2 separate regions of the Homo sapiens genome follow, and region 1 is linked to region 2. Evidence: promoter capture Hi-C in human tissues and cell types (Jung and others, 2019). All regions are on one chromosome and are shown on one strand. The core of a region is centred on a gene start or on the middle of the fragment in contact, and the rest is flanking DNA. Distances in the headings are between cores, read along the strand shown. Region 1 has its middle 55 kb from the start of NETO1-DT. Region 2 holds the start of NETO1 (neuropilin and tolloid like 1).

Region 1 (2,725 bases), core at 222-2,721, 56 kb after region 2:
TTCTTAAACCCTGCACATATTTCTTCCTTAAAACATACACTATCTATATATGATTAGACACTTCTTTCCTATTACATTTTCTATTTCTTATTTGGCCTTTCATTTTCATTTTCAAAGAGCATTACAAATACTTTTGTTACAATTCTACATGACGGCCTACTAGTTTTCTACTATCAAAGTATTTGTTTAACTGGCATTTTACATCCTAGAAGTAAATGATAAAATATTAAAATAAAGAGCCAAGGACAGAGCCCATCTGGATGACGCTCTTGCACATCAAACAGCAATCTTAGGGAATGCATATTTTTCTTGAAATATCCACTATCTGCTATTACTCAGCCATATATTGATGATATTTCAAGATGAAGGCATAGAAATATAAAGGCTCAGAGATCTGCTGCAGAGAAGACTCAGAAAAAATGGAAAGAATTTGAATTTAGCAGCTTTTTGCAGAAGAGTTGAGAGGGTACTGGGAAGTGAGATTTGTAGGAATTGATATAGGGTCTGAGTTAGACGTACAGAAATAATCCGTAGGAGCAAGAGAAATACCCCAAGGCTGCGGCAAACTCTGCATCATGCAGGAAAGGGATGCTTTCTGATTTTTTATAAGAAAAATGGAGTGTCCTCTTTGATAAGGAAATAGAGAAATTGTGAGATCTCATAGACTATCATCAAAGAAAAAAACCCAGGAAGAAAAGTGTATATTATAAGGCAAAACTCCAGTAATAAAAAATAAGGTATGCGAATTAGTCCATTTTCACACTACTATAAGGAAATATCTGAGACTAGGTAATTTATGAAGAAAAGAGGTTTAATTAACTCACTTTTCTGCAGGGTTAACAGGACTCACAACTGGATGGCCTCAGGGAACTTAAATCATGGGGAAAGGTGAAGGGGAAGCAAGCACTTCTTACCATGGCGGCAGCAGCAGAAGAGAGAGAGTGAGCAAAAGGGGAAGTGCCACACACTTTCAAACAACCAGTTCTCATGAGAACTTACTCACTATCATGAGAATAGCATGGAGGAAGTCTGCCCCCATTATTCAATCGCCTCCCACCAGGTCCCTTCCCTAACATGTGGGGATTACAATTCAAGATAAGATTTGGGTGGGGACACAGAGCCAAACTATGTCATTCCACCACTGGCCTCTCCCAAATATCATGTCCTTCTCACATTTCAAATCACAATCATGCCTTCCAAACAGTCCCCCAAAGTCTTAACTCACTCCAGAGTTAACCCCAAAGTCCAAGTCCAAAGTCTCATCTGAGACAAGGGAAGTCCCTTCCACCAATGAGCCTGTACAATCAAAAGCAAGTTAGTTACTTCCAAGATACAATGGGGGTACAGGGATTGGGTAAATATTCCCATTCCACATGTGAGAAATTGACCAAAACAAAGGGGCCATAGGCCCCAAGCAAGTCTCAAATCCAGCAGGGTACACAGTAAATCTTAAAATTTGAAAAAACTTTCCTTTGACTCCATGTCTCACATCCAGGGCATGGTGATGCATGGGATAGGCTCCAATGGCCTTGAGTATCTCCAGCCCTGTGACTCTGCCCCATGGCTACTTTCATGGGCTGGCATTGAGTGTCTGTGGCTTTTCCAGGCTCACAGTTCAAGCTGTTGGTAGATCTACCATTCTGGTGTCTAGAGGATGGTGGTCCGCTTCTCATAGCTTCACTAGGCAATGCCCCAGTGAGGACTCTGTGTGGGGACTTGAACCCCACACTTACCCTCTGCATTGCCCTAGCAGAAGTTCTCCATGAGGGCTCCACCACTGTAGCTGACTTTTGCCTGCAAATCCAGGTTTCAGAGGATGCAAATACATCCTCTGAAATCTAGGTGGAGGTTCAAAAACTCTTGCCTTCCAACACCTGGAGGCCCAACACCATGTGGAAGCCACCAAGACTCGGGGCTTGCACCCTTTGAAGCCACAGCCTGAGCTGCACCTTGACCCTTTTTAGCCATGGCTGGAGCTAGAATGGCTGGGATTCAGGGTGCCATGTCCTGAGGCTGCACAGAGCAGCAGGGCCTTAGGCCCTGCCCACAAGACCATTTTTCCCTCTTAGACCTCTGGGCCTGTGATGGGAGGGGCTGCTGTGATAATCTCTGACATTCCCTGAAGATATTTTCACTGTTGTCTTTGGGATTAACATTCAGCTTTTCTTTACTTATGCCAATTTCTGCAGCAGGCTTGAATTGCTCTCCAGAAAATGGGTTTTCTTTTCTACCACATGGTCAGGCTTCAAATTTTCCAAGCTTTTATGCTCTGCTTCCCTTTTAAACATAACTTCCAATTTCAGACCATCTCTTTGTTAATGCATATAGCTTTATGCACTTAGGAGCAGCCAGGCCAAATCTTGAACACTTTGCTGCTGAGAAATTTCTTTCATCAGATGTCATATATCATCAAAGTTCCACAGATCTCTAAGGCAGGGGGAAAATGCTGCCAGTCTCTGCATAGCAAGAACGATCTTTACTCCAATTCCCAATAAGTTTCTCATCTCCATCTGAGATCATCTCAATCTGGACTCCATTGTCCATATCACTATCAGCACTTTGGTACAAGTCTCTAGGAAGTTCCCAACTTTCTCACATCTTCCTGTCTTCTTTTGAATCCTTCAAACTGTTCCAACTTGTACCCATTACCCAGTTCCAAAGTCACTTCCACATTTTCTGGTATCTTTGTAGCAGTGCCCAACTCCTGCCACAAATTTTCTGTATT
Region 2 (2,700 bases), core at 1-2,500:
ACCACACACCCATAAAGCGACATCAGCGGTCTCCAGGGCGGAAAGGGGTGGAAGCTGACCCTCGCCCTTCCCTCCAGCGCTGGCTTCAGGTGTGCCTTCTGCTACCTCCTGTACTGCGAACAGGGGCCCGCCGAGCTCCGGGAGCCCCTAGAAGAGGAAGACTCCTCTGGCCCCACTAGGTATCATCCGCGCTCTCCCGCTTTCCACCTGCGCCCTCGCTTGGGCCAATCTCTGCCGCACGTGTCCATCCCTGAACTGCACGCTATCCTCCACCCCCGGGGGGTTCCTGCGCACTGAAAGACCGTTCTCCGGCAGGTTTTGGGATCCGGCGACGGCTGACCGCGCGCCGCCCCCACGCCCGGTTCCACGATGCTGCAATACAGAAAGTTTACGTCGGCCCCGACCCGCGCGGGACTGCAGGGTCCGCCGGAGCGCGGCGCAGAGGCTTTTCCTGCGCGTTCGGCCCCGGGAAAGGGGCGGGAGGGCTGGCTCCGGGAGCGCACGGGCGCGGCGGGGAGGGTACTCACTGTGAAGCACGCTGCGCCCATGGATCATGTCTGTGCGTTACACCAGAGGCTCCGGGCTCCACTAATTCCATTTAGAGACGGGAAGACTTCCAGTGGCGGGGGGAGGACAGGGTCGAGAGGTGTTAAAGACGCAAAGCAAGAAGGAAATAAAGGGGGGCCGAGAGGGAGACCGAGAGGAAGGGGGAGCTCCGAGCCCACGCTGCAGCCAGATCCGGATGAGTCCGTCCTCCGCCCCGGGCGGGCTCTCGCTCTCGCTGGCCCTCAGCGCCGCGCAGCCAGCAGCATCCCCACCGTGACGCTCGCATCACACCCGGGCGCCGGCCGCCACCATCCGCGCCGCCGCCGTCAGGACCCTCCTCCCGGGCATCGTCGCCGCCGCGGGGTCGGGAGGACGCGGCGCGCGGGAGGCGGCGGTCGCAGGGCGAGCCCCGGGACGCCCCGAGCCGGGGCCGGGGCCGGGGAGAGGGCGCAGCGAGGTGGGGGCCAGTCCAGACCGACGGCAGCGACGGAGCGGGCGGCGGCGGCGGCGCCGGCGGCGGCGGGGTGGCTCAGTCCCCAGTCTCAGACGCGCCGCGCAGCAGGTCGGAGCAGCCTCCCCGGGAGGATGTCCAGCGGCAGCGCTCCTCGCTCCAGCCCTTGGGGATCTTCCGCTGAGGCATTGAAGGCAGGAAGAAGGGGTCCGTCATCGGCTCGCCGGGCTGCGCGCCACCTCTGCTATCTTGCGGAAAGAGGAGCGGGTGGGTGGGCGTCTGGGAGGCGGGCTGGAGGGCGGTGCAGGGGAGCGGGGCGGCCGGGGGGGGGGCCGGGGGGCGGGGAAGGGAGGGAGGAGAAAGGAGCCGGAAGAGGGCAGAGTTACCAAATGGGCTCCTTAGTCATGGCTTGGGGCTCCACGACCCTCCTGGAAGCCCGGAGCCTGGGTGGGATAGCGAGGCTGCGCGCGGCCGGCGCCCCGGGGCTGGTGCGCGGCAGAATGGGGCCGCGGCGGCGGCAGCAAGGACATCCCAGCCGCGCGGATCTGGGGGAGGGGCGGGGAGGGGGTGAGGACCCGGCTGGGATCCGCGGCTCGGCCCGCCAGGGCGCAGAGAGAGGATGCAGCCGCAAATCCCGAGCCGGATCCTCGTGCCGGACGGAAGGCGTGGAAGCGGGAGGGGCCTTCGTGTGAAAATCCCTTGTGGGGTTTGGTGTTTCACTTTTTAAAGGTTAGACCTTGCGGGCTCTCTGCCTCCCACCCCTTCTTTTCCATCCGCGTAAAGGAACTGGGCGCCCCCTCTCCCTCCCTCCCTGGGGCGCAGGTTTCGCCGCGGACTCCGCGCTCAGCTTGGGAGACACGGCAGGGGCGCGCCCCAGGGAAAGGCGGCCGTAAAAGTTTCGCGGTTGAGCACTGGGCCTGATGTCCAGTCCCCCCACCAAATTACTCCTGCAAAGACGCGGGCTTCTTGCAATTGAGCCCCCCACCTCGAGGTATTTAAAACCACCCCAAGGCACACACGGACCCCCGTTCCCCCGCGCCACTTCCTCCTACAGGCTCGCGCGGCGCGTTAAAGTCTGGGAGACACGAGTTGCGGGGAAACAGCACCGGAAGAGCCCGGGCTTGTAAAATGCGAATCAATGAATACGAAATAAGGGCAACCGCGAGGCAGCGCCGGGAAGGGCTGGAGCGCGCGGGGGTGCAGGGAGTCCCTCCCTGGGCGCCGCAACGGCACCTCCTCCCTTTCCCGGCTCCGTCCCGCCCTCCCTCGGCCTCTGCGGACGCGACCCACGCAGACCACAGCCGAGCCCGCCGGACCCCGGGACTACGGAAGCCATCCCGTCCGGCCACCCACACCCGCGCCGCGGCTGGGGCTTGGGTTGGGGACTGTGGCGGCGAAGAAGCCGGGGTAGGAAGAGCTAATGGCAATGGCGGGGTCGCCGGGGGGCGGGGGGTCAGCAGCAGACGCTGAGCTGTGAAGACTAGGGTGGCCCCGAAAGGCCGAGGAAAGGAGAAAGGGCCATGAGAAGAGTCTGGCGAGCGCTCGAGGCCGGGGGGCTGCCTCCCGGCTCTGGCCCGGCCTCCGCTTCCCGGCACCTGCTGCTGGGGCGCCCACGTGCGCGCGGGGCTGCGCGGGGCGTTGGGTGCTCGTCGCAGTCCTGCCCACGCCTAGCGCAGCGGCTGTGAGTGGGTGGAGGTCTCCTG

Evidence for each region. The method cuts DNA at HindIII sites, captures the fragments that hold promoters and counts their contacts. A contact is called where the count stands out against the background at its distance.
Region 1: a fragment that was not itself captured here is called in contact with the fragment with the promoter of NETO1 in region 2 in 1 of the 25 tissues and cell types used here (adrenal gland).

The regions. Positions count from the first base shown.
Region 1 is chr18:72,922,146-72,924,870 of GRCh38, forward strand. No RefSeq gene overlaps it. Among named protein-coding and RNA genes, the nearest start is that of NETO1-DT, 55 kb to the left of the region's middle. The HindIII fragment of the contact is 6,337 bases long and covers 1-2,725 here.
Region 2 is chr18:72,866,737-72,869,436 of GRCh38, forward strand. It overlaps NETO1 (neuropilin and tolloid like 1), which reads right to left and starts at 1,251. Exons shown (of 11, transcript NM_138966.5): 1 at 528-1,251. The coding sequence starts at 555. NETO1-DT (NETO1 divergent transcript) reads left to right here and starts at 1,652. Exons shown (of 2, transcript NR_134648.1): 1 at 1,652-1,726. The HindIII fragment of the contact is 16,969 bases long and covers 1-2,700 here.